5 separate regions of the Homo sapiens genome follow, and all the other regions are linked to region 2. The links are contacts of gene promoters, found by promoter capture Hi-C in blood cells and fetal thymus (Javierre and others, 2016). All regions are on one chromosome and are shown on one strand. Each heading gives the region's core, a stretch centred on a gene start or on the middle of the fragment in contact. The rest is flanking DNA. Distances are from core to core; before and after follow the strand shown.

Region 1 (5,637 bases), core at 782-3,281, 590 kb after region 2:
GGTACCCTCCCAGAGCCTCCCTTTCCACTTTCCCTTCTCAAAATGCTGTGATCTGATGGCGGCGTTCTCTGCCCCGGGCCGCTAGTCTCCCTGTGAGGGGGAGGCCAAAGTGGAAAGGCCATTGAATAGCTGAGACATAGGCAAATGCAGGATGGTAGTTCAGCTTTTCATTAATCTTAATCTGGGAAAGCGGCCTGATTCGAGCATCAACTGAGAGTTTACTGAATGCCAAGTGCTATGCTTCAAGCTGTGAAGGAATTCTGGAGACAGAAAATACAGCCCTTTTTCTGAAAAGCTTAGGTTCTAATGAGATTATGTATATACACACTCCAATAAATGCAAGTTAGCCTTTTACGTGACGAAGTACAGGGAGACTCAGTTACTGGAAACGGCAAACCCAGTTGGAAGTTTTCATAAAGAGGATGTGTCTTGAGCAGGCTCACAAAAGGATGGAATCTGGCGGAGAGTGAAACGGTCTTTTAGGACATAGCCTTCCTTTGTGTACTCCTGGAAGCAGGAAAGGATGAGTGATGTGCAAAAGAAGAGATGTGGGGTTTTTTGAGGATCTGGCATAGTATTGGGCAGCATATCCTTTAACGAAAGCTGAGAAGTATCCAGTGGAAAAGAGTGATCATTGTTGTCAGAGGGAGCAGAAAAGTCTAAAAAGGGCCTAATGAAGGGGCCATTGGATTTGTCTCAGAAGAGGTCTCTTTGTAGCTTTCAAACAGCAATTTCAATAGAGTGGCAAACAAGGAATCCAGTTTGGAGAAATGAAAGAGATAGTTGATGAAGAGATGGAAATAGTAAGTATGTTTGAAGAATTTAGCCCGTAAGGGAAGTGGAGCATTTGCTAGAAAAAAAAGTCTGGATATTGCCTGATTAACTTATCCATTAGTAGACCCATTAATAAAGACACTAAAGAAATCATGCAGATGATAGAGAGGACTTGGATGTTTCATTTGTTCCCATGCTGCAAAATAGGCATATCTCCATACCATTTTGGGGAGTCTACCAAGTGTCAAACACTATTGGCTACAATTTGCATATTCTTATGAAATTCAAAGTTGAGGCAGATTTTGCTATGCTTCCAGAAAAAAAGGCAAGAGGAATCGTTTTGTTTTAACAACAAATATTTGAAGTTAGACTTAATTTTTTCCTTTGGAGAGTTTGTGAAATGATGGACTGTAAGCCAGGTACAGTGGTACATATCTTTAATCCCAGCACTTTGGAAGGCCAAGGTGGGAGGATCACTTGAGCCCAGAAATTGGAGTCTAACCTGGGCAACGTAGTGAGAACGCCCACCTCTTTAAAAAAAGTAAAAAAGGATGGACTGTAAATCAAATGGGTCTCTGAAGTCCTTCATCTAAATGTTAGGTTGAATTAATATGATTCTACATGAAGGCACTACCATATTCTATATTCTTAAGAATCACCTATCTTCAAAGCTTGTAAATGAAAACATTTTCTTTTGCTAGTCTATGCATTATGTGTAAGGCATAAAGTATTATACATATAGCTAATTTTGACTAGTCTCAGCTGGTATATGTGACACCCAAACAATATTGTACACATAGAATTTAAAGTTGTGGGAAAGAAGCTGGTTCTCTTGCTGAAAATATTCAGGCATCCTACTTTTCAAAGTATCAGATAATAATACATAATTTTAGTCAGCTCTTGAGGACTGAGCACCAATTTTCCTGTCTATGAAGACTTTCAGTCTAAAACAGTGATTTTCAACTGGGGGGCAATTTTGTCCCCCAGTAACAATTGGCCATGTCTGCAGACATTTTTGGTTGTCACAACTGGTACTACTGGCATCTGGGGGGTAGAGGCGAGGGACGCTGCTAAACATAATGCACAAGTCAGTTCCCCACAACAAAGAACCATCTGGCCCAAAATGGCAGTCCTGCTGCTGTTGAGAAAGCCTGGTTTAAAGTTTGACCAGAGAGATACACAAAGCCAAAAAAAGGTTATTATGGGAAAAGCAAGACTGAAGGAGGACGAAAATAGAAATTGTGACTTACTGTGCCTGCTTCAAATACTGTGCTAGGTTTTCCACATACATTTATTCAGTCTTCTCAAAAACACCTTAAAGGTAGATATTAACTGTCCTCATTTTTATAAATGAGGAAATGCCGTTCCAAGGGGTTTAATAGCTTGCCCAGCATCACCTGTCTAATAAGTGATGGAGTTGGAAGTAGAGCCAGCCCTCTTCCCTCTCCACCAGTAACATCACCTTGGTATTCCATGGCAGGGCCTCCCTTATTGTTCCCTCCTTCCCTGAAAGCTCTTAGCAGTTAACTTGCCAAAGACCATTTAGTGCCATTATGGTTGGCACTGCCAGATTTAGCAAAGACTGTGTTGGATCTCATTCCTCCCTTATCCCTCTTAGAGCCCTTGTGAAGGAAATGTATTTAAAATAAAAAAACAAACATATTATTATATAAATTAAGACATGATTTGTCAGACACTTAGAGAAAGGTATATTGAAGTGAGTAAAGGCCAAAGGGAATTTGCTTCATCTCTTTCACAGTCAGTTAAGAAGGCCTTCTGGAAGACCTAACGTTTCAGACAAGGGTATGCCTGGCAGGTTGGGCAGTCCCATATAAAAGCTTTGAGAGAGGAGTGAGTTGGAGTCTTTAAAGAATTCAGGGGACATAGTCCAGAGTAACCTGCTAGTGGGAAGAAATTTTTGTGCAGCAGTAAGACGACTCATTCTGAAGCATAGGGCAGAGGGACATTCCCTCAGGGGTCCAAGGGAAAGAAAGGGGGAGGTGATGAGGGAACCAGAAACTTTAATGGTAGAGTTAAAGATGAACTGGAGGAAGCAGGGCTTGAGGCAGGAAGGTGTTTGCAAAAAGTTGTCAGTGGCCAGAAATGCAAGCACACATCCCAAACATGGCACACCTCTCCCTGACCCTACATAAGACTATTAGGGCCACTGCCCAGCCATCAGTTACTCCAGTCTTTCCTACTCTGCTTGGGCCCTGGTTTTTACAGATCCTCTCCAAGAGGGACCTTGGTCTCTGGGCACTTCAGCAGTGCCCTGCACTCCTCATCTTTTTTCACTTCCTCTTTTATTAAGCAGTTGAGTCTTTACATGGCTGCAGTTCACTGTGTCTGTTCATGTGGCCATCAAGGTTTTTTGCATTTTCTGTGTTTGTTGTTGTTGTTGTTGTTTAAGAGACAAGGTCTTGCTGTGTTGCCCAGGCTGGCCTCTAACTCCTTAGCTCAGGTGATCCTCCTGAGTAGCTGAGACTATAGGTGTCACCCCATCTCCTCCTTTTGCATTCACTGCAATCTCACCACAATGTCATTTGTTCCACACTGTTATAATTCAGTTATCTTGGACTCCATCCTGGGCAAGTATTTACTGAAGTACTCAAAGGACCTCTTTACGAGGCATGGACTTTATTATAGTCAAGTTCCCATGCAGAGTTTAGTTCTTTTCCTCCTCTAGGGCAAAGACTGTGGCTCCTATTCTACTGTAATTCACAGTAGGTAGAATGAAGCTGTATAGTCCATAAGTGCCCAGCAAATGTGTTGCCTCACTGGGGACAGATTATTTCATGTGTATGAGAAGTGCTTATCTGGAAAGATTTTGGCCCTTAGTTCCAGTTTAGAAAACTGCTTCATCTCTTCCCTTAGCTTACTTGATACTGCCATATCTCAGAACACAAGGGTGATTCCATCTTTTTCTAAACAAGTTTTCTGTTACTGCCTAAATCTCTCAGTCCAGCTTTTCTTAGCCACCCCCACTTCTCTTGAATAGGGAGGCAGCCAGGAACAAAATGGATCAGGTTTTGTTTGGTTTTGACACGTTTTTGTATGCACCCTGTAAATCAATACTATTTTGATTCCTATCTCCTCTTTCGAGGGGCTTAAAATCTACTAAGGGCCTCAAGGACCAGGTTCCAACAGGGCCTTCTCCCCCTGCACTAAGACACCACCCTGATCAGTGTCAGTTCAATGTGAGTTCTCAGGTCATTCCTTCTGGTTTGACAAATTGTCTCTGTTAGATAAGCATCTGCCTATTGTTTTACCCACTGGCTTCTAGTAAGATGATTCGCTGGCTCACAGTTGCTGCGTGGAGGGGGAGTTTGTGAACAGTGGAGCTTGCCATGGGCTTTGATCTGTTTTCCAGGGGCCAGTGGGATGACTTCAGGATTTGGTACTTTGCCGGGAGTGATGTGTGTTTTGTTAGACTTGTTTACCTCATGGTTAGGACCCAAGTGCCTCCACCAAGCAGGGAACCACATGTTTATCCACTTGTGTTTCAAGGCATTGTTCTTCTGCCGACTCCAGTGGTACCAGAACGTGTCTCTCCTTTGGTTCCTTTGGGGATTCTTAGAAACTTTCCCCACTACTTGTTGCTCAGATTAGGTTGTCTCTCAACTTGGTTTTTGCAAATTAGCAAAGTTGCAGGGTGCCTGGAACCCCTACTGGACTGGGGATGTGCCCTCCTCCTACCTCCCTTCATTTCTCCCCATCCTCCGTTTGTAGGTTGATTCTGCAGATTGACGTATTGCAGTGACCTTCCCTCTGCAGCTGTGCTGGCTTCCAGACTGAGGACCACATTGAGTCTCACCCAAATCCCATTCTTGGGTTGGTCTGTGTTCTGTACAAGTAGATCCGTGTGTGGGGTGACCCATTTTCTTTTACATGGAAAAACCTAGGTTGTCTTTGAATTGATTAGTAACTACAGTGTTCTCTGGAGAAAGCCTCAGGGCTTTTCTAGCCATTGTTATTCCTTTGTATGTCTGGAGTTGGACACTGAGAGGCTCTCAGGTTGGTTGTTTTGGAGCAGTGAGTCTTTATGAATGGGTTGCCCAGAAGACAAATGAGGGACAATTCCAAGCAGTCTGTGTCCAATTAGGTGTTGGTCACAGAGCTCAGTGATCACAGATGCTGCCATGGGCCTCTGGTTGGGTTACAATTGCCTTTTTAGTTAGATGGTCCCTTCTCTTTTTATTGGTGTTTGTTTGTTTATTTGAGATGGGGTCTCGCTCTGTCCCTCAGGCTGGAATGCAGTGGCATGATCATGGCTCGCTGCAGCCTCAACCTCCTGGGCTCAAGCAGTCCTCCCACATCACCTTCCCAAGTAGCTGGGATTACAAGTGCATGCCACCATGCCTGGCTAATTTTAGTGATTTTTGTAGGATTTTGCCACATTGCGCAGGCTGGTCTCCTTAACTCCTGAGCTCAAGTATTTCTTCCCGCCTCAGCCTCCCAAAGTGCTGGGATTACAGGCGTGAGCCACTGTACCCAGTCTGGCTTCTATCTTTCTAAAGAAACTGTGTCAACACGGGAGTATCTCCAAGAACTATTTGATTATATTAGCTGAATGTGGGCTATTGGCTCATTCTGCATCTTGGTTAGGTAAGATAGGAAATGTATTCAGCCTGACAGACGTGTGCAACTGATTGTCTTGCCTTCAGATTCTCTTCTGACTGCCTCACCTAAATAGGCAAAGCACTGAGGGTGTCCCTCTCTGTTTGGAATGGCAGTACTTGAAATTCTTCTTGGACCCAGTATCTTCATGCTCCTTATTCCTACCGCATCCATCAACACTCTCCAGTATAGATAATAAAATGCAACCCTGCAGGGAGAAGAGGATTTCACTCAAGACTCCCAGGA
Region 2 (5,562 bases), core at 1,102-3,601:
AGAGGCAGAGAAGGATCAGAGCCAGAGATAGAGGCCCAGGCAGCAAACACAGATGGATAGGATGGTACCCAGAGAGCATCCGAAGACAAACACAAAAATGGCAATGAAACAGAAGATGTGGACAGGGAAGACAGGGGAGGACAGACAGACAGGCATCAGCGAAGGAAGGTCCCCAGCCCAGACCCCTTCCAGGTCCTCTAGAAAAGGGGGAGGGACCCACTGACATCACTTCCCCACTTAACAAGTGGGGCCCTCACTTCCAGATTTTTTTCAGTCCTAGGTTCTAGAGGAGCTACTCCCCTCTGACCCATCCACCTCCCTAACCCTCACAATTAGCCTAACACGTCCTTTGGATAAGGGCCTCCAGAGAACCCCAGGCCCAGTCTCATTCCCCATGTTCTGGACCCTGGTTCCCCTGTGAGTCTCCCTCCTGCACCCTGACATCCTTCCCTTTGTCCTAGGATGGGAGGGAGGGGGCTGGGGTCCCTGAGCGGCAGGCAGTCCAGGAGGAGGTATCCAGAAGGGCAGAGGCATGTGGCTGAGGAGAGGACAGGCATAGGGGATGTGGGACTGGGGTAGCGAGGACAACGTTTGAAGCCCAGCAATTTATCAAGAGAAAATTATTTTTGGTACTCTCCTGGAGCCTGTCTGTTAAAGCTCCTGGCACATTCTGTCCCAGGGTTGGCCCAGGAGTTGTTTACATGTCTGGCTCCCCACTACACTGGGTACTCCTGAGGGCCCATGCTTCATTCTCTTTGCATCCTAGGTGCCTACCATGGTGCTGGCCCCCAGCAGCCACATCCTAATTGAGTGTTGAGTTTAATTTCTTGTAGTGGCCTCTGTTTTCCCACCCCTCCTCTGTGCTGTCTAGCTTTAGGAACCCATCCCCCACCACACACACACACACACACACACACACAACCTCCTGCTGGGATCCTGACTTACCCCCTCAATTCCTCAGGCCTGACCTAGAGGCCAGCCAGGAAAGAGAGGAAAAGAGTGGAAAAGAAGGGTACAGTAATAGGCATCGGTCCCTGGATCTAGAAGTATGGATAGTTAGGCGAGCTAGGAAATAGCACACAGTACATGTGGACAAGGAGATTAGGGTACATGTGCCTTTCGGGGAGCCTTGTCCTTAGGAGGTATGAACATACGGGCCCCTTCGTGTGCCTACCTGGTTATGTGCTTGTCCCCATGTGGGTACCTCTGAAAGGGGCTTTACCTGCAGGCCCATCCCCGCTTGTGTGCCTCTGCCCTAGTACAGGGTGCATGCGTGTGCACAAGTGTGCATGGGAGGCTGGAGTGGGGGTGCTCCTGGTACTTTCCTCCGTCTCTTTGTCTTCAGGTTCAGAGGACTGAGTACTAGGGACCCCAACTAGGGATATGAGGAAGCAGCAGGAGCCTCGTGAGAGAGAGGTGCACACCCCCCCCCACACACACACACACACACTCCCAATGACCACAGGCGGGACCCCCCGTACACATCTGACCTCCTTAGGGTCCCAGATCAGGTACCACCACCACTTCCCCATGGTACCCTCCTCGTTCTGTAGCCCGTACAAGCCGCCCTTCCTGGCCTTCAAGGTAGCATCCTCCTCTGTGAGACAGGATCCCCGCCACCGTCCCCACCCCGGTAGAGCATAGCCCCCACTCTCATAAGCCCAGGATCCGCGAGGCTCCGCCCCTAGGCCCCTCCCCCTGCCCGGGACCCCTGAGCCCCGCCCCCGGCGCGGCCCCTTCCCCGGCACCGCGGACAGCTCCGGCCGCCGGGTGGGGGCGGCGGCGCGGACTGCGGCTGCAGCGGCCGGCTCGGGGTGCGGGGCGCCGGCCGCGCTGCGGCGGAACCAGCGGGGGACGCGTGCGATGGGGGATGGGGGGCCAGGCTGCGGCCGCGCCCGGGGAAGGGGCGCCCTAGACTCTCACCTCCTCTCGGGCGGGGCCCTCGTCCGCCGCCGCCGCTGCCGCCGCCGCCGTGAGCTCCTCCGAGACCCCGGGGCCGCCACCGCCGCCGCCGCCGCCGGCGGCGCTCTCTCCCGCGGCCGAGCCAGGGGGGGACATGGCGTAGAGGGGGCGCGTCGAGCTCAGGACCTCCCGGGGGGCTGCCAGGGGCCGGGGGCATCCTGCGCGGGCCCTGGGGAGAGGACGGGAGGGGGCGGGGCCCTCGCTGCTCCCCACCCCCCGCCGGGGGAGGGGGCCCGGAAAGGGCACCGGGAGTAAGGGGCTGGGGGCTGAGGGTGGGAGGCAGGCTGGGGGGCCGGGCCGGGGGGGGCCGGGGCCGGGGGCGGGTGTCACCTTGAGGCCCTCGCGGCGCCGCTCCGCCTCCCGCCCGCTCCCGCCGCCGCCTTTTGTCTGAGCCGAGCTGGAGCCAGCGCGCCCCCCCTTTCCTGCCAGCGCAGCCGAGCCCCGCCCCCAGCCCCCCAAACTCCGCCTTCCCAAGCCTACCTAATAACCACCCCCCGAAGGGGTAAAGCAACAGGGACTCCCCACACCTCTTCCCCGCTCCCAGCCCTGCTCACTGCACCTCCCTCCCGCGCTCCTATCCTGGGAGAATCTGTGCCGCAACCCCTCTCCATCTGTTCTCCGTGGACTCGGTGCCCGAGGTTCAACCAACAGCACCCCCCCACACACACACACATCTCTGGTTCCCCCAAGTTCCCAGGGCAGAGGAGTGGGGAGAGGAAATTGATTCTTGGAACCCTAGGGAAGATCCTTACTCCCAGTTTCGTGGTGAAGGGTTAAGGCAGAAGCTAGACTTCCAGAGGAATGGAATAGGGGGAAAGGGAAGAGATTGAAGCTAGATGTGGGAAAGGACTAACAGAGGGCAGAGGGGAGGGCATTGGAACCGGCCTTCACTGAACCATCTTTCTTCCCTAAAAGAACAGCTCCAGAGAAGCAGTGAAGTGTGTGCAATACCCTAGGCTGGAGGGCAGGAAACCTGAGTTCTAATTCTGAATTCTGTATCTGTCATTAAGGAGTTATGTGACCTTGGGCAAGTGCCTTCCTGTCTCTGAGCCTTAATTTCTTCATCTGTGCAGTGAGGAAGTTGACTGGACAATTTCTAAGGCTCTGACTTGTAGGTGTAGGAAGCAAGCCAGGCTGAGCCACTGCAGGCAGCCTATCCTTTCAGGCCATCCACCCCACACTGCTTTTCCCTGTATCCCCTGGCACAGCAGGAAGGACCCTGACATTTATTCATTCATTCATTTCTGGATGTCTCCATTCAGTAAACAGGTGTTGGGTACCTATTGTGTGCCCAGTACAGAAATGAAACACAGTTTCCTTCCTGCAAGGAGCACAAAGTCTAATGGGGAGAAAAGAACATGAAAAACAACCATTATGAAGAATATAATAAAAGCCATGCATGATCAATCTTGTGCATACACAGTCACTGTGGAATCCTACTATGTGTCATTAGAGTCTTTGACATACAGTAACTGTTCTCCCCAATTACTCACAGGGAACCAAGGCAGAGGGAGAGTGAATGGCTTACTCAAGGTCACCTGCTAGCACTCACAGAGCTAGTCCTAGAATTCAGATCTTTCCCACTCAAAATCTATGGGGAATATTTGTGGGTAGGAAGTTAGTTTGGGGCAAAGCCTCGATGTCTGATTTTGGGGGATAGGGTACAAACACACTGATCTGCCCAGGATGTTCCTTCCCCTTGTTGGGGACAGGAGAGCCACTGCTCCCACCCCTCTAGTCCCACTCCTGGCCCTGCCTTCATTTTACTACTCTTCCCTTTCCAGGTGAGGTGAAGGTGGCTCTCTGTCCACCTATTGCTTAGAGCTATCCAGCCTGCATGGTCCTCTCCAGGTTGATGGGTCCATTCTCCCTGCCCAGAGGAAGGCGGCTGTCCAGAAGAGGCGGGGGTCTGGTTCACTCCCTTGGCAGAGGCAGAATCTCACTTGGTGGTTCATTCCAGCATCTCCTGCCCATGCTTTTTGGGAAGCTGGCCTCACAGCTAACTCCAGCCCCTCTTGTTCCAGTTTCAACCCCTTCCCCCACAGAGAGCAGAGCCCCTAACCTTGGCCTTTCCAAACCCACAGAGGATCCTTTCGTGCTCCCCATTTAGGCACCATAATCTTCCTCTTGACACCCACCCCCACTGCCTTCCTGTCTCCACTTCAAAGGGCTTTGGAGGAGGGACAGTTTAGCTCTTTTTGGCCAATGCTAGAGCTCCCAAGAGACAAAAGGCTACCCCTGCCTTCTCCATTCACACACAGTACCCTTCCCTGGAAGCTACAAGAAAGGGGGGTGAAGGAGGGGGCGGTGGAAGGAGCCAGCTGACCGGCTGGTCACCATGGAAACCAGGCCTGTTTCCTGAAGATGAGCCTAGCTGGGGTGGGTGGAGGTGGGGAGTGGGGGCACAAAGGGAACCAGAAAACAACAGAGAGAAAGACGAGGGGCCCAGCCTCAGAGAAGACTGGAGCTGAGGAGGCGAGGTCAGGTCCCTAGCCATGCTGTGGCCTAAGTCAAAGTCCCCAGGTCACCCTTTCAGATAACACTGCAATGGTCCCCCTCCCCATTCCTGGAGTGTTGGAAAGGATTCCTGTCAAGAGTGCAAGCTCTGGTAGTGGGGCCAGTGGGTGACTCAATGCTGACCTCATGTGGCCATAAAAGGGACTGCCACACACCTGTTACGGCTCAGAGCCAAACACCTGGCTGGGTTAAGTGGGTTTTTCCTAAAATTCAGCCTCTGTATGAATAAAAAGGAGGTCCTTGCACACTCCTGAGTTCTTACATCCTTGCAGAGGGCTCAGACACTCCCACCCTATGTGGTTTACCTCTTGATAAAGAAAAGAAGGTTCCACTAAAAAATATGTAAAAGTTTTGGATTAGATGAGAAGCCATCTCTGCACTTTCTATTTTAACTTGAGCAAGTCAACTCACCTCTCTGGGCCTCAGTTTCCCAACATTAAAATGGGGATGATAGTGTCAGATTTCGTGTGGATTTTTTTGTTTTTGTTTTTGTTTTTAGACTGAGTCTCACTCTGTTGCCCAGGCTGGAGTGCAGTGGTGTGATCTCAGCTCACTGCAACCTCCACCCTCAAGTGATTCTCCTGCCTCAGCCTCCCAAGTAGCTGGGATTAATTACAGGCATGTGCCACCAGGCCCAGCTACTTTTTGTATTTTTAGTAGAGATGAGGTTTCGCCATGTTGGCCAGGCCAGTCTTGAACTCCTGACCTCAAATGATCCACCCACCTCAGCCTCTCAAAGTTTATAGGCGTGATTACAGGCGTGAGCCACCGCGCTCGGCCAAATTTTGAACCCAGTTGGTCTGGGTCTGGAGTTTATTACTATACTTTTGCTGCAGCCTTTGAGGACCGGAGAGGAACATGTCAGGGGAGGAGACTGAGAACATCTGAAATCATGCTGACTCAAGGGAAGGAGATGCTTCAATTTCCCAGGCCTTTCCCCTCGTGGCTCCTCACTGGGCTTCATGCTCATTACGTCTTTCCCACTCTGGTCCTACATGGGGTTGAAGAACAGTGGGCCATCTTCTCCCCTCAGCCCTCCCCCAACTCTTCTGCCTCCAATCGCCCCCCACAGACTAGGTCCTT
Region 3 (5,718 bases), core at 2,039-4,538, 520 kb after region 2:
AAGCAAGGGCAAATTCCCTGAAACCAGAACATGCTTGTCTTTTTGAGGAAAAGTAAGAATGTCTAAACGGCAAAGGAGAGAGGTAGCTAGGGGCCAAAACATGTAAAGCCTTATAGGCCACTGTAAAAACTTCATATTTAATTCTAAGTGTGGTAGGGAGAATTCTAAGATGACCCACCAAAATCCCCTGCTCCTTGGTTTGCCCCTATACATAATCCCAGGACTGTGAATATGATAGGTTTCACCCCCGCAGTTAGGTTGTTCCATGGCATAGGTGACTCTAAAAATGAGATTATCCATGGCCAGGCCTGGTGGCTCATGCCTGAATCACATGAGCTCAGGAGTTCAAGACCAGCCTGGGCAACATAGTGGGACCCCCTCTCTACAAAAATTTTGAAAATTAGCCAGGTGTGGTGGTGCACATCTGTGGTCCTAGCTGCTCAGGAGGATGAGGTAAGAGGATCACTTGAGCCCAGGAGTTCAAGGCTGCAGCAAGCCATGATCACACCACTGCACTCTATCCTGGGCAACAGAGTGAAACCTTGTCTCAACGACAACAAAAACAAAAAGAACTCAGTTCAGCTGACATTTTGATTTCAGCCTTGTGACACCCTGAGCGAGAAGCCCACTCACACTGTCCCTGACTTCTGACCTACAGAACTGTAGGCTAATCAATAGGTGTTATTTGGAGGTGCTAAGTTTGTGGTCATTTGTTGCACAGCAATAAAAAAGCTATTATGTTCTATATGATGGGAAGTCATAGATACACAGACCCTTTCTTATGAGTTTGACTTTAATATCACCCTAATTAGAGAGTAAGCTCCCTAAAGGCAGAAACCAACAGTCTACATGTCTCCTGCACTAGACTGCGCCAGGCACCTAGTGGACACACAAGAAATATCCCATAAATAAGTAAAAAATGTGTTGAACAAAGGCGAGCTCTTTGGAAAACTTGCCTGGCCTCTTGTACTGACCACTTTGAAGGACTGCTGATATTTGTAGAAGTTCTTTCAGAAAAATTGCATTCTGTGTATGCACAGCTTGCCTTCAGTCCTGCCTTGTTTGTGGTGGGGCATGGGGTAGGACGACCTCTCTTTAAATGCAGCATGTTGCACCAGAACTCACCTTCCATTCAAACATGGCTCCAACAGACTTCCCTTTCTGTTGCCACCATCTTTGGGGGACCCAAGTTCTGAACCTTGGGCTGATGCTCAATTCCTCCTTCTGTTACCCTCTCCATAGTCAGAGTCCTGGAGATTGATTTTCCAAAATGCCTTTCTATGAGTCCTAGCATCTGTGTTCCCACTGCCATCAGCCTATCTGAGGCCTCTCAGCTCTCACCTGCGTGATGGCAAAGGGCTCCCAGCAAGCTTCACCATCTCTTCTGCCCTGTGCTCAATCCACCTTGGTCACCACCACCTGGCTAATCTCCCTTAGATAACACTTGGTACATGTAAGCCCTTCCTCTAAAACTTTCATAGGCTCATCATTGCACACTCAAGTGAGCGGGGTGCCCCATAGTGAGCTGTGAGCATCTTGAGAGCAAGGGCCAGGTGTTTAATGTCTTTGAGGCATCATTGGTGTTCAACATCCATATGAGGCTGTTGATGGCAATGGTCATGACCATGAACATGAGAAGGATGTCTTTTCTTTTAGGTCAGAGAAGACAGCTGGTCTGTTAGTCTTCCAGGCTTTAAAGACTTAACCAGCAGTAGGGGAAAACTATGAAGTGTGTCCACTCTTCTCTTTAACCCTCTGCCCCCAACTCCTCCCCATCCCTGGGAATCTTGGCCAGCAAGCCTCCCACCCCTGTTACTCCATATCAATGTCAGCTGTCAGATCTTTTGTTCATGCCGAAGAGGTTTCCTTCCCAAGAGTGTTTGCAATTTCACAAGGAGATGACCGTAAAGGAGGCAAATATTAATGGTAGGGTTTCACGTATCAGCTGCTGGGTGGAGTGAGATGTTTGGACAGGGATATAAAGCTTTGCTCCTGCACCCAAAAACATGTCCCCGCCCATGCAGCAAGACTGATGTTAATAAAAGCATAGCATTGAACACATGTACCCTCCCCCGACAGGTGGGGACGGAACAAGTCCACGCGGTAGGCAGGATCTGGAGTAGGCTGCTGAAAAGCTCCAGCCAAATGATGAAGAAGAAATTCAAGAGAAGTTGAATGCCCTATAGATCTTAGAAAAAAAGAACAGTTTAGAAGCACAGGAAAAATTGCTATGCCTTTGGTCTTTTTTTTTTTTTTTTTTTTTTTTGAGACCGAGTCTCACCATGTTGCCCATGGTCTCAAACCATGGCCCATGGTTGCCCAGGCTGGTCTCAAACTCCTGGGCTCAAATGATTCTCCCACCTTGGCCTCTAAAAGTGCTGGGATTACAGACGTGAGCCACCACACCCAGCCAACCTTTGGTCATTTTTATGTCCCCATCCTCAATACCAACTCTGAAGAGAGTGGACCCCTTTCCACAGGACGGGCCCACCCCCAGGCGTGGACCATAGGGAGGAAGAAGCAGCTTCCAGACTCAGGAGCCCCTCCATCTTCCTTTTGTTCTGTTCTCCCTGCTAAAGTGTTGGAAGGGGAACTTTTGCACCCCTTTCCTCCCCTGAACAGTGGCTCACAGCTTCCTGGGCCCAGGGAGGGGAAGCCTGTGATGGGGGTGAGGGGGGACATGGAAAAGGAGGAAGGGAGGAAGCTGTGCACAGCTTGGCGGGGGGCTGGCCCTCTGGCATCCTGGGGGAGTCGTCCTCCTTAATTGCTTGAGTTCTACAGCTGTCATTGCTAACGAGAAATTAAAAAGCACCCTGACCCCTGCCCCAACTCCTGCCCTCATGGCTCACAAGTGCTCCCTCAGCACGTTGCTCTCAGAAGAGCACGGGCAGCGGAGCCGTGGAGACGTGGGGAAGCCTGGAGCTGACCGCTCCCAGCCCCCCAAGGGAGGGGGCAGGATGCCAAATTAGGGGAATGGGAGTCAGTCCCAGGCCAGCTTCTCCACTCCTCCTGCTACCGTCAAGCTCCACGTTCCTGGACGCCCCTGATTTTACACATCCTGCCTCATAATCCCCGCAGCTCTTCTGGGACTTGTCAGACCTCAGGCCCAGATTTTGGGGGTTGGGAAACAGGGTTCCTGGAACTGCAGATTGAAGATTTACACTGAGCTGCCCTGGGCCCAGCGAGCAGTGATGTAAAATGCAGAGAAATGAAGAGGGGATGGGGAAAAACACACAGCAAGAAGGATCTTCGTGTAGGGAGGAACTTCCCGGCTGTCTCACACCACATCCAGAGACGACATCTCCTCTCTAAGGATAAGGATTCTCTGCCTCACATGGTCCACCGGAACCTGTGTGGTCTGGCTCTTGCCTGCCTCTTCAGCCTCCTCTCCCCACCCCAGAACTCAAAGCCAGACACTAACTTTGCTCTCAGAAAGGACTTCTCAGCACCCACAGATTTCAGCCATCAGCACAGCTCCTTCCTGTCACTTACCTCCCCCTCCTCCCCCAGAGACCACTGAATTTTCACAAGCAAAACACTGTGTTCTAATACATTCCCTTCCCATTCTTCACATGTGCCCTCCTCCACACACACACACACGCACACACACATACACACACACATATACACACATATACACAGTTCCATACAGTACAGTGCTGCATTTACATGGTGGAGTCACGTACCCAAGTAGGGGACAATATCTCCCAACAGACCCTAGTTATTTGACTTTAAATTATAATGCTGTCATGAACATCTTTGCTCACATAGTCAAGTGAATAATATTCCTGAATGCATTTGCTATTTTTCTTTCAAACTTATGTAGATACTATGGAGATCAATAATATGTGATAATTTCAAATTATTTCTAACTTCACCACAGTTTGTTGTCTTCATGGATTTTTCTCAGATGATGAATATCTGTTATACAATCACTGTCTTTTGGAGTTCTCTGAAGGTTTTGTTTTTGTTTTTGTTTTTTAGTGTTAAAATAGGGTTTTCCAGCTCAAAATGTTTGGGAATCACTACCTGAAATCAACCAGCCATTGCCACACACACACAGTCCCCAAATCAAGCTAGTATTCTGTTCTGGTAAATCTTAAGTAAGTCCATTTTTGCATAAGTCAGAGTTGTTTCAAGTGAGAATATAAATGAAGCAGGTGCCCGCTTGGCAGCAATGTAAACAGAGGGAAGAGCATGGAGACTGGGTAGTGAGGGTGCCCCCAGCTCTCCTTGCCTGCAAACAAGGGTTACTTCAGAGCAAAGGAGCCCGATACACACACTTACACCCCGTCAACCAGTGCACCCGGCAAAGCTGGTGGAAAAGCCTGACTCAGGCCGCGTTTACCTAAGTCACCCTTACGTAAGCATGCCTATAAAGATTTTGGAAGGTACAAGGAGAAAAGTAAATAGCTGGGATTATGGGTATGAGTTTAATGTGGGGTTCCTGATATTGCAAGACTGCTTGAAAAATAATTTAAGTATACTCAAAATTAAACTTGGGCACAATGCTTATATGTGCCCAGCCCTGTGGAGGGGTTGTCAGATAATTAAGAGATGTTATGAGACGGCCTCTGCCTTAATGAAGCTTACGATCAAGTTGCAGAGAGGAGCTCTAGATTCGGCAAAAGCAGGCCTGCCGTCTACCTCCCCTTCGGCTGGGCCGGGCTGGGCGGCTGTTGGCTCACTCTTAACACCCTCTACTCCCTCACAGGTCCCATTGCCCCCTAGCCAAGCCCTCTCCTCATACTGTCCCCAGCTCATCCCCACAAAGGAGCGGCCTTCTTCGTGTTTGGGGCATTCCTTTGCATGTCACTGATATTCACAGCTATGGCAATGTCAAAAGGTACCCTCTCCTGGGTTCCCCTCCTCCAGCTCCCTTTCATGCCTCCCCAGTATTTCTGGGGGACTCTGGTGTTTCTGACTCCTATCTCTCCCCAGCCCTCCCCTCAAAACACAACCCAGAGGAACTGCCACCACCATCTGCATGTTCTCAGCAATCAGTCCTCCCCCAGCGCCTGTCCCCAGAGCTGGGAGGGGGCAACTGCTGAGTCAGCCTATTCCTCACATTCCCTCCCTTCTCCCCTGCCGGCCAAATGCCACGGACCCTGCCTCTGAGTGACGGACCTCAGCTGAAAGGCTGCCCCTCTCCACCCTGACCCCAGCTCAAGACCGGCCTTCCTCCCTCACACCCCAGCGGGAGGCCCAGGAAGAAGGTCATGCTGCCCACACTCCATTGGAGCCCTGGCCGGACGTAGGGCTGGGGTGCCATACCACCCCATCTTCCTCCCTCATTCCAAGCTCCATCTCCCTAACCAGCCTCACTCAGAGGATCTGATCAGGAAAGGACAGGGAAGGTGATGGAAAACCAAAAGCAAACCCTCCCCACACAATACACACATACACACACACACGTGTGCACACACACAGCCAACTGGGCACCACACCAGGCACAGTCACCCCTCTAGTGCAACGTTGGGTCTGCCAAGGGAAGCCTAGGGGGAGTCCCAAGAAAGACTTCCAACCCCAGGGACCCCCAGTCTGAAAGGAGAGCTTGCCCTATCCTCAGAGAGCTCCTAGTATGATGAAGAAGACCCCCAAAGAACTATGGCCAAGGGAGGAAGGAGGCTGCTCTCTGTCACTCACATAAAAAGTAAACAAAGGCTCAGAAGGTCAAGGGCAAAGCTATGAGAGAGCCTGGAAAGGGGAAGAAGCATG
Region 4 (5,750 bases), core at 742-3,241, 560 kb after region 2:
GGCCCCCAGAGCAGTAATGGCCTCTTCCCCTGTTTCCCAGTAGAGCATCATTATGTTCCCCTCTCAGACTCCTGGAGACCCCTCCAACTTGAAAGCAAGTGTCATCTGCCCTGGAATCTACTGGGGCCACCCTTGAAAGAAGGTGGACAGAGGCCAGGCTTGGGAGACAGAGGATCCTGGGTTGGAATCCTAACTAAATGGAGTTCACTTGGGTCTGAACCTCACTGTAAAATGGAAACCATAATTCTCTGTGGCAGGGTCATTGTGAGGATAGAGATAAATATCTTTAAAAGTGCCTGGCACAGAATAGTGGCAAGATAAATGGTCAATATTTTGTATCCTGTTTTCCAAGGCTTTCTTATGAAGCCTCCACCTACCCACTCCCCCCACCCCAACCCTCCTCCATATGCCTCCCTGTCTTCATTTTCTAGAGCTGCCGAAACAAATGACCACAAACTTGGTGGCTTAGAACAACAGAAATTTATTTTCTCACAGTTCTGGAGGCCAGAAGTCTGAAATTGAGATGCCAGCAGGGCCAAGTTCCTGTCCAGCTTCTGGTGGCTCAAAGCATTCCTTGGCTGTGGGCTCCAGTCTCTGACACCACCTTCACATGCGTCTTCACACGGCTGTCCCCACCACGTCTCTCAGTGTTTTTACTTGTTTCTTAGGAGGACGCTTTCACTGGATTTGGGGCCCACACTAATCCAGCGTGATCGCATCTCAATCCTCACCTTCATTACCTCTGCAAAGATCCTATCTCCAAATAAGGTCCCATGCTCAGGTTCCAGGTGGGCATAAACTTTGGGGGTCTCTATTCAATCCACTACATTCCCCAACCTCAGAGTGAGCCAAGCTTAATTCCCCAGACTCCCTATTACCTGGCACAGCCATGGTCCCTGCCCAAGCCTGCTTCCAGACCCCCACCCCTCTGCCCCTGCATGTCCCAGGTCCCGTGGCCCTGCGCCTGGGCTCCCCAGTGCCATGCGTGCATGCCTATGTGCATGTGCACAGATTCCCCCTTCACTTGGCGGTGAGAAAGGGGGATTCTAGGCTTCAGCAGGAGCCTACAGGGGCCTCTCTGCTCGGAAATGCTTCTTCCTCTCCCCCTGGCAGCTGTTTGGCTTGGCGGGGGCCCATCTGGCAGGCTCAGCAGCCAAGGAGCCCTAGGGGGCAGTGGGAGGGAATGGTGAGGGGCAGGCAGCTCCGTAGTCCTCAGGCCCAGGCCCTGGGAGCTGGGCCAATGGCGGGCCTCCCTGCTGGCTGGCTCCAGCCCCTTCGCTCTTGGTTCTCCTCCTCCCTGGTCTCCCGTCCTCCCCATCCTGTAAAGGGGAATTCTGGAGACCCTCCACCACCCTGCACTAGCCAAGGAGAAGACGTGCAGAAGAGGAGCAGCAACTGGCAAAGCAAGAAACACACCCAGGGAAAGGGCAGTCAGTGGCTCCTGAGGATCCGCTCATGGGGGCTCTGGATACTCTTTGAGGGCACCCTAGGACAACCTGGACTTCTCCCAACCTCTGATATTCTGTCCTCTGCTCCTTCCATGTTCCTGAAATTTCCTGTCCCTGGTGTCCCCTCCAGGGCACTTGCCTTCTTCCAGGGCCCCTCTGAACCCCCAAGCTGTTGCCTACTTTTCTGGGTCAGGCCTCTCTTCAGTAAGCAGGACAGAAAATGATGCCCTCAGCCCCTAGCAGGTCCTACAACCTCTTTCTACTGATGGGAAAATGTAAAACACATGCGCACACACGCACACACACACACACACACACACAGGGAGGGGCACAGGATAATGAGCCTGGGCTTTAGGGTTCATTTGGCCTGGGTTCAAGTTGCAACCCTGCACTTGACACCTGTGTGATCCTGGACAGGTAACTTAGCCTCTCTGAGCCTTGATATAGCCTCATAAAAGTAAGACTACTCATAGCTAACTTCCAGGGTTGCAAGGATAAAATTGCATAGCCTCTGAAATAAGGTAGGTATTCTCTAAATGACAACAACTTCCTATGTGCCAGGCACTGCATTAAGCACTTTGCATAGATTATCTCATTTAATACTAATAATAACTTTATGAAATAGAAACTATTTCATGGCTAAGGAAGCTGAGCAGTTTGCTTTGGGTCCCAGAACTGGTTGAGAGATTGAGCTGAGATTTGATTCTAAGCGCTGTGAATCCAAACCCTGCACTCGAAACTACCATGCTCTGTTGCCTATGCTACTGGCAGTGTAGACATGGTAGATGGTGTTAGTATTAATACCACAGAGAGCAGCTGGGCTGCAGGGGTTTTCCCGGGGCCCCTGCAGGTGCAGCTTGGAGGTCAACCTTACCCTGCACACAGATTTGCATGCAGCTTGAAAGTCGGGATCTGCCTGGCTGCCTTAGTAATTCTGGAGTCCTGGACACGAGGGCCAACCCATCCCAGTCACAGGAGACCACTGAAACTGAAGCTCCCAAGGCTCTCGTGCCTTGGCACATCTGGAAGCTATTAGCCTCCTTTCTACCACCTACCCCCTCAACCCCGCCCCCCAGCCAGCTGTTCACAGTGGCTAATTCTGGGAAGTGCCCCTCAGCCAGTGGCTGCCTGCAGGGGAGCGGGGAGGGGGGTTCCTCACCAACACATCCATGGGGTGGAGGGGAGGTGGGCAGGCAGCAGAGGGTTAATCTGAGTAACTACAGCTGCTGGTCTCCTCCCCCAACCCACAGATAGATAGCCAGTGGGGTTACTCCTGGTTGAGTAATGAGGAGGGAAGAGAGCGGGAGGAGGCAGGGGTGAGTGTGGAGGGAGACCAAGGAGCAGAGACTGAGAAAATGTTTCTGCTGGCAAAGATCTTTAAAAGGTCATCTGATATTGTCCATCCCCCTGTTTCCTGGGGGTCACGGTGACCTCATGGTGTAGTGGAAAGAGGGCAGTCTTTGTAGTTGAGCAAAGCTGGGTCACAATCCTGACTCCGTCGCTGTCAGTCTGTACAACCTTGAGCAAGGTCCTTACCCTCTCCAGGCCTAAGCAGCCTCATTTGTGCAATGGGAGAACAGCACCCCTCTGGCAAGGCTGCCAAGAGAGTTCTGGGAGATACAGTCTGGTCCATGCCCAAAAACATTCGCTCCCTCATCTCTAAGAGCGGCAAGAAGCTTCGAGAGAGGTCTTCCCTTGGTTCCACTACCTGCCTCACTTTCTGGGATCTCACCGTCTAGATCCTGAATCCAGCACACCCATCTTACTGTGAGGCCTGCCGTCAAAGCCATGCCCTGCCTAGAGACTTGACTTGCCCTCCTCTCTGCCCAGCGCTGCCCTCCTCACTTTCTAAACTTGCTGAAGACCCCCACCGCCGGCACTGACAGCTCCCACTGGCTCCAATTGTCCCAAACCTCCCTCCACCCCGTAGTACCTGTGTCATTCAGGAGGTTATCTGACATCTCTGAACTCAGTTATCCTGGGGGTTAAATGTCGCTGCTGCAAAAATGCCTCCTTATATACTACTGCGCGTAATCTTCATAGCAATTCTTGAAAATAAGATCTAACCACAATTTTGTATATCGAGAGGGAAGAACAGATGCTAACTTTTTTTTTGTTTTTCAGATTTGAGACAGGATGTCACTCTGTCACCAAGGCTGGAGTGCAGTGGTGCAATCTGCTCACTGCATGCAAACTTCACCTCCTGGGCTCAAACAATCCTCCCATCTCAGCCTCCCAAGTAGCTGGGATTACAGGTGCATGCCACCACACCTGACTTTTTTTTTTTTTTTTTTTTGAGGTGAAGTTTCATTCTTGTTGCCTAGGCTGGAGTGCTGGGGTATAATCTTGGCTCACTGCAACCTCCGCCTCCCGGGTTCAAGTGATTCTCCTGCCTCAGCCTCCCGAATAGCTGGGATTGCAGGCACCCACCACCACATCCAGCTAATTTTTTTTTTTTTTTTTTTGAGACGGAGTCTCGCTCTGTCGCCCAGGCCAGACTGCGGACTGCAGTGGCGCAATCTCGGCTCACTGCAAGCTCCGCTTCCCAGGTTCACGCCATTCTCCTGCCTCAGCCTCCGAGTAGCTGGGACTACAGGCGCCCGCCACCGCGCCCAGCTAATTTTTTGTATTTTTAGTAGAGACGGGGTTTCACCTTGTTAGCCAGGATGGTCTCGATCTCCTGACCTCATGATCCACCCGCCTCGGCCTCCCAAAGTGCTGGGATTACAGGCGTGAGCCACCGCGCCCGGCCAATTTTTGTATTTTTAGTAGAGATGGGGTTCCACCACGTTGGCCAGGCTGGTCTTGAACTCCTGACCTCAGGTGATCCACCCACCCCAACCTCCCAAAGTGCTGGGATTATAGGCGTGAGCCATGGCACCTGGCCGATGCTAACATTTATTAAAGACTTGCTGCACACCAAGCCATGGACTGGGCCTGAGAGAAAAGCTGAGGAAATCCTGGATTTTCCCCTTAGAAGACTTTAATACTTGAAGAATTTTAATAAATGAAGAACTGGTTAGTATCTCCTACTGGTGCTACTGCGCAAAGGGCCTGTGTCCCCAGGCAACCAGACAGCCTCCCCCTCATTATCCTGGCTGGGACACAGAGAACAGCTGCTGAGCCCTAACCCAAGGGGCTGTTCCGTCACCTGCAATTGGGTGGCCCCTACACCCCCTTTCACAAGTCATTCCCCTTCCTGTTGCCCGACAAGCTCTAGTCCCTCTGGAGCAATGAAATCACATCCCACATGCTCCTAGCCTCCATTCTTAGCTTTTCCTCGAATCCACACCCGCTTAACCCATTTGATGACTGATCTGCAGGAGCCAATCCAGGTTAGTTCTTTGCCGTTATTTAACCACTGTTCACTGAGTGCTTCTTCCGTGCTAGGCACTGTCTACTATCTCTTTTGTTTGTTTGTTTGTTTTTGTTGTTGTTTTTTGTTTTTTTGAGACAGAGTCTTGCTCTGTCACCCAGGCTGGGGCGCAACGGTGCAATCTCAGCTCACTACAGCCTCCACCTCCCAGTTTCAAGTGATCCTCCTGCCTCAGCCCCCTGAGTAGCTGGGATTACAGGCGTGTGCCACAATGCCCAGCTAATTTTTGTATTTGTAGTAGAGATGGGATTTCGCCATGTTGGTCAGGCTGGTCTCAAACTTCTGACCTCAGGTGATCTGCCTGCCTCAGCCTCCCAAAGTGCTGGGACTACAGGCATGAGCCACCTGTCCAGCCTCTACTATCTCATTGAACACTATACACACACACAAACACACACACACACACACACACACACACACACACACAGAGTAACCCCAAAATGAGTATTATTATGTCAATCTTACAAATGAGGACACCAAGCCTCAGAAGCAGTCCCACCCCAAATCCTGCCCAGTCCTAGTCCATGGGAACAGCACCCACCTGCCTTGGGAAGGGCACAGCAGCAGCCCTGCTCAAGTGGTAAGTTCACCCAGATCAAAGGATTCCAGACTTGAATAGTCAGCCATCTAGGCATCAGCCCACCAGCCCATCTCAGACTCAACATGGCCAAAACCAAACCTCTGATCTTTTCCTTCAAACGTGCTTCATCCACAGCTTCCCTATCTCCACTAATAGCAACTCTATCCTTCCAACAGCTCGGGCCAGCAATCTTGGATCCACCTTTGACACCTCTCCCTCTCACCTTCAACCATCAAGAAATCTTGTTGGCTCGACCCTTGAAATATATTCAGGACCCACCACTCCCAGCCACCTCCACCGCTTGCACCAAGCTCCCAGCCCCTCTCTCCTGGACTACTTCAGTCTT
Region 5 (5,556 bases), core at 1,229-3,728, 610 kb after region 2:
TGGCGCATGCCTGTAATCCAGCTACTTAGGAGGCTGAGGCAGGAAAATCACTTGAACCCAGGAGGCAGGGGTTGCAGTGAGCTGAGATCACACCACTGCACTCCAGCCTGAGCAAAAGAGCAAGACTCTGTCTCAAAAAAAAAAAAAAAAAAAAAAGGCCAGGCTGGGCATGGTGGCTCACGCCTGTAATCCAACACTTTGGGAGGCCAAGGCGGGCAGATCACCTGAGGTCATGAGTTCAAGAGCAGCCTGGACAACTTGGTGAAACCCTGTCTCTACTAAAAATATTTTTAAAATTAGCCAGGCATGGTGGCAGGCACCTGTAATCCCAGCTACTCAGGAGGCTGAGGCAGGAGAATGGCGTGAACCCGGGAGGCGGAGCTTGCAGTGAGCCGAGATGACATCACTTGCACTCCAGCCTGGGCGATAGAGTGAGACTCCATTTCAAAAAATAATAATAATAATAAATAAAAATAAAAGTAAAAAGTAGAAATACAAAAATTAGCCGAACATGGGCCGGGCGGGGTGGCTCACGCCTGTAATCCCAGCACTTTGGGAGGCTGAGGCAGGCGGATCACGAGGTCAGGCGATTGAGACCACCCTGGCTAACACAGTGAAACCCCAACTCTATTAAAAATACAAAAAATTAGCCAGCCGTGGCGGCGGGCGCCTGTAGTCCCAGATACTCAGGAGGCTGAGGCAGGAGAATGGCGTGAACCCGGGAGGCGGAGCTTGCAGTGAGCCGAGATCGCACCACTGCACTCCAGCCTGGGCGACAGAGCGAGACTCCGTCTCAAAAAAAAAAAAAAGCCGGGCATGGTGGCCGGTGCTTGTAATCCCAGCTATTCAGTAAGCTGAGGCAGGATAATTGCTTGAACCCAGAAGGTGGAGGTTGCAGTGAGCCGAGATCACACCATTGCACTCCAGGCTGGGTTACAAGAGCGAGACTCCATCTCCAAAAAAAAAAAAAGACTTCAGTGGAGGAAGTAACTGCGGATGTGGTGGAAGAAGAAAAAGAACTAGAATTCAGAAGTGTAGCCTGAAGATGTGACTGAATTGCTGCAACCTCATGATAAAACTTGAATGGATGAGGGGTTGCTTCTTACAGATGAGCAAAGAAAGTGGTTTCTTAAGACGGAAGCCACTCCTAGTGAAGATGCTGTGAACATTGTTGAAATGAGAACAACAAAGGATTAAGAATATTACGTAAGCCAGGTTTGGTGGCTCAGACCTGTAATCCCAGCACTTTGGGAGGCTGAAGCGGGCAGATCACGAGGTCAAGAAATCGAGACCATCCTGGCCAATGTGGTGAAACCCCATCTCTACTAAAAATACAAAAATTAGCTGGGCATGTCTGGGCATGGTGGCTCACACCTGTAATCCCAGCACTTTGGAAGGTCGAGGTAGGCGGATCATAAGGTCAGGAGATTGAGACCATCCTGGCTAACAAGGTGAAACCCCGTCTACTAAAAATACAAAAACAAAGATTAGCCAGGCATGGTGGCGGGCGCCTGTAGTCCCAGCTACTTGGGAGGCTGAGGCAGGAAAAATGGCATGAATCCGGGAGGTGGAGCTTGCAGTGAGCCGAGATTGCGCCACTGCACTCCAGCCCAGGCGACAGAGCAAAGACCCTCCACCAGCAAAAAGATTATGATTCGCTGAAGGGTCAGGTGATCGTTAGTATTGTTACGAAATAAAGAATTTTTAATTTTTTTAACATTTTTAGACACAATGCTATTGCATACTTAACAAACTATAGTATAGTACAAACACAACTTTTCAAAAAATGTGTGACTCACTTTATTGCGATGTTCACTTTATTATGGTGGTCAGGAGCCAAATTTGCAATATCTCTGAGATATGTTCGTTTCTTTTTTTTTTTTTCTTTTTTTTTTTTTTTTTTTGAGACGGAGTTTTGCGCTGTTGCCCCAGGCTGGAGTGCAGTGGCGCAATCTCAGCTCACTGCAACCTCTGCCTCCCAGATTCAAGCAATTCTCCCTACCTCAGCCTCCTGAGTAGCTGGGTTTACAAGCGTGTGCTACCATACCCAGCTAATTTTTCTATTTTTAGTAGAGACGGGGTTTTGCCATGTTGGCCAGACTGGTCTCGAACTCCTGACCTCCAGTGATCTGCCCACCTTGGCCTCCCAAAGTGCTGGGATCACAGGCGTGAGCCACCGCACCCGGCTGGTGTGTTCATTTTCATTTGAGTCCTTACTATGTGTTAGGCACTGTTATAAGCATTTTGTGCATGAGTTAACTCATTTAATTCTTGCATCCAAATACTCACCAGGCCTGACCCTGCTTAGTTTCCAAGATCAGAAGAGACTAGGCACATTCAGGGTGGTATAGGAGTAGTCCATTTAATTCTCATAACTCGTTGAGGTAGAAAATATCAATTCTCCCCTTTTTAGAAATGAGGAAACTGAGGCACAGGGAAATGGAGGGATTTGCATGAAGTCACACAGCTAGTAAGTGGCCAATTCAGGATTCCAACCCAGCCTGTCTGATTCCACAGCCCTTGTCATCCCCATCCCCATCCTGAGATACCCCCCAGTTGGGTCGCTTGCTGCTCTTCAGAAGTGTTTCCCCCTAGAGGTGTGGGTGACTATTGTCCTGTGGTTCCTATTGTCATTTAAACTATTGTTTACTTAACAATCCAGTTCATGCCAGAACTGTGGAGTCTAACACTTTAACACTTACTGTGTCCTTGGGTTTAACTCTCTGAGCCCCTGTTTCTTCATCTGTAAAATGGGGATAAAAATAATAGGCTGGCTGTGAAGATTAAAATGAGATAAGGCATGGCAAGAGCTGAGTACGGTGCCTGACACATGATAAGCAGTGTCACATTTCATGAGTTAGTTGTTATTGTTGTCATTATCATTGCCATCATCATCATTAGATCCCTCTCATTCTCAGGAACACCCAACAAGGGAAGAGAAAGAAGTGGGGCGCTGAGTCTGTGCCTTGGGCCTGGCCCCCGATGGCCTAGAGCCTAGAACCTGAATTGGGTCATAGAATCCAAGGACATGCTCTTCTCTACCAGAGATGCTCAAGGGAAGGAAATGGGATCAGCACCACCAGCTATGGGCCAAGCATTATATCCAGTCCCTAAATACCAGAATCCCAAAAGTAACAGTTGAGATGTAAGTATGGCTAGTATTTTCAAGGATATTTGGGAGAAGATTCCCAACCTGCCCCCATTCAAGATTGCTACAAAAATCAAGAGACATTGAGATACCTCCTCTCTGTGAAAGCATATGGAAAACAATCCTACCTTTTGTAATTCAAGGACACTCATCAGTGTGTACTATAAGCTGGGCCCTGGGGAAGCTCCACCCTCAAAAACCCATGGTGAACCACCAATTCCCACTAGGCCCTTGGTTCCAGTCTCAGAGGAAAATGGCAGGTGGCATGGCCCACTGCTATGGCCTGAGGACAGATCCCATGGCCTCCAGGTAATGGACTATTACCTTTGGGAATGTCATGCTCCAAGGAGTCCATGAAATCCAGGGAGGGGTCCAGGTCAGCCTTCTCAAGCAAGGTCTTATTCTTTAGCTCAACAGGCTCCCTGAAATGGAAGTAGGAGCTGAGCTTCTTGGCCTCAGACAAGGACAGTCCTAGAAAGAGGTGGCAGGCAGGAAAATGATGGTTAGCCCAAAACCCCCCAGCCCCCTTTCTGTCTGCACTGGGACCACATGGTAGGGCTTACAAAAGACCCTGTCAACCACTGTCAGAGAGCTAAAGGAAGGAAAGGGATTAGCATTCCCTCAGTCCAAACTCGGACCAGATCCTGCCACAAAGAGAGTCCAGCCAGGCACGATGGTTCATGCCTGTAATCCCAGCACTTTGGGAAGCCGAGGCAGGCAGATCACCTGAGGTCGGGAGTTTGAGACAAGCCTGGCCAACATGGCAAAACCCCGTCTCTACTAAAAATACAAAAATTAGCCGAGCGTGGTAGAGGGTGTCTGTAATCCCAGCTACTCGGGAGGCTGAGGCAGGAGAATCGCTTGAACCCAGGAGGCAGGGGTTGCAGTGAGCCAAGATTGTGCCACTGCACTCCAGCCTGGATGACAAGAGCAAAACACCATCAAGAAAGAAACAAAGGGAGGGAGGGAGGGAGGGAAGGAGGGAAAGAAGGGAAAGAAGGGAAAGAAGGGGAAGGAAGGAAGGAAGGAAGGAAGGAAGGAAGGAAGGAAGGAAGGAAGTCCAAGGAGGAAGGAGATAGGAAAAGGCAGGTAGCCCAGACCCATGTAAAGCCCTGGGACCAAGGGACTATATGCTCTCCCACTCCTCAAACTGAAGAGAGTCAGGGGCCAGGAGATGGGGAGCCCATACCGACCACTGGTGCCAGGTCACTGGGCACACCCTCCCAGGTGATAAGGTCACAGCTACTCCTTCTCTGATAAAGTGTGTAAGCCCCCCTGCTGGACTCCCAGACATATGTTCTACTGTGCTTGGGAAAAGATACCCCCAGCCCTTGAGAGGGGCCCCAGAGAACTCACCTTCAAAGGTCCGATTGACATGGGTGGGTCCAAAAGGGGTCTTGAAGAGGGCGCCTCGGGGGATGATGGCCACAGCCTTGTCAATCTGGTCAATGACAGACACCAAGCGGGTCTCTTCCTTGATCTGGACCTGAGGAGACAGGAGAGGAGCCCCCCTGCCAGGGCACTGTGCCCAGGCACCCCGGCGCAAGGTCCCTCTGCACGGCCATCTCACCCGCACCACTGCAGTGTAGTGGACCCCAGAGCCACACAGATCACGCTGGGCAGGCCCTCGCCTTCCTTCCTATCAAGATTTTCTTCCTTTCTTTTTATTTGTTTTTTAATTCGTAATACATAAGGGTGGTATGATATTCAAAACTACAGGAAAAAATCAGTCTTTCTCTCACCCCAGTCCGAGACCCTAGTTGCCCTCACTGGGGGCAGCCACCATTGAAGGTTTCTCATGTACTCTTCCAGAGGCATACCATCCTATCAGCATATTTAACTGTTGCTTATTTTGCCTTTTTAAAATATAAAAGTAATCATGCTCACTGTAGAATATTTGGATAATATAGAAAGACATACCAAAGATAACTAAAACCACTCATAATCCTACCTCCTAAAGATAATCACTGATAACATATTGGTATACTTTCTTCATGTTTTGTTGTTATTGTTGCTGTCATTTTGTTTTTGTTTTGAGACAGGGTCTCACTCTATCATCCAGGCTGGAGGGCAGTGGCACAATCATGGCTCACTGCAGCCTCAACTTCCCAGGCTCAGATGATCCTCCCACCTCAGCCTCCTGAGTAGCTGGAAGTACAAGCACATGTCACCACATCTAGCTAATTTTTGTCTTTTTTTATTATTATTTTTATTTATTTATTTCTGAGACAGAGTCCTGCTCTGTCGCCCAGGCTGGAGTACAGTGCAGGGATCTCAGCTCACTGCAATCCCTACCTCCTAGGTTCAAGAGATTCTCCTGCCTCAGCCTCCTGAGTAGCTGGGACTACAGGCGTGCATCACTGCACCCAGCTAATTTTTGTATTTTTAGTAGAGACAGAGTTTCACCA

Evidence for each region. The method cuts DNA at HindIII sites, captures the fragments that hold promoters and counts their contacts. A CHiCAGO score of 5 or more calls a contact.
Region 1: a contact is called between a fragment that was not itself captured here and the fragment with the promoter of TMEM151B in region 2, in 1 of 17 cell types (naive CD4 T cells). The highest score is 5.2, in naive CD4 T cells.
Region 3: a fragment that was not itself captured here is called in contact with the fragment with the promoter of TMEM151B in region 2 in 1 of 17 cell types (neutrophils); the score reaches 5.1 in neutrophils.
Region 4: a contact is called between a fragment that was not itself captured here and the fragment with the promoter of TMEM151B in region 2, in 1 of 17 cell types (naive B cells). The highest score is 5.3, in naive B cells.
Region 5: a contact is called between a fragment that was not itself captured here and the fragment with the promoter of TMEM151B in region 2, in 2 of 17 cell types (erythroblasts and neutrophils). The highest score is 5.7, in erythroblasts.

The regions. Positions count from the first base shown.
Region 1 is chr6:43,681,654-43,687,290 of GRCh38, reverse strand. All of the region lies in intron 1 of MRPS18A (mitochondrial ribosomal protein S18A), which reads left to right. Among named protein-coding and RNA genes, the nearest start is that of MRPS18A, 3.3 kb to the left of the region's middle. RefSeq lists an enhancer at 3,134-3,183. The HindIII fragment of the contact is 1,167 bases long and covers 1,448-2,614 here.
Region 2 is chr6:44,267,239-44,272,800 of GRCh38, reverse strand. TMEM151B (transmembrane protein 151B) reads right to left here and starts at 2,351. Exons shown (of 3, transcript NM_001137560.2): 1 at 1,924-2,351. The coding sequence starts at 2,058. The HindIII fragment of the contact is 13,529 bases long and covers 1-5,562 here.
Region 3 is chr6:43,744,117-43,749,834 of GRCh38, reverse strand. No RefSeq gene overlaps it. Among named protein-coding and RNA genes, the nearest start is that of VEGFA, 23 kb to the left of the region's middle. The HindIII fragment of the contact is 2,604 bases long and covers 1,987-4,590 here.
Region 4 is chr6:43,711,638-43,717,387 of GRCh38, reverse strand. No RefSeq gene overlaps it. Among named protein-coding and RNA genes, the nearest start is that of MRPS18A, 27 kb to the right of the region's middle. The HindIII fragment of the contact is 2,271 bases long and covers 856-3,126 here.
Region 5 is chr6:43,654,640-43,660,195 of GRCh38, reverse strand. RSPH9 (radial spoke head component 9) reads right to left here. Exons shown (of 5, transcript NM_152732.5): 3 at 4,505-4,634; 4 at 3,473-3,619. Among named protein-coding and RNA genes, the nearest start is that of RSPH9, 12 kb to the right of the region's middle. The HindIII fragment of the contact is 7,215 bases long and covers 1-5,556 here.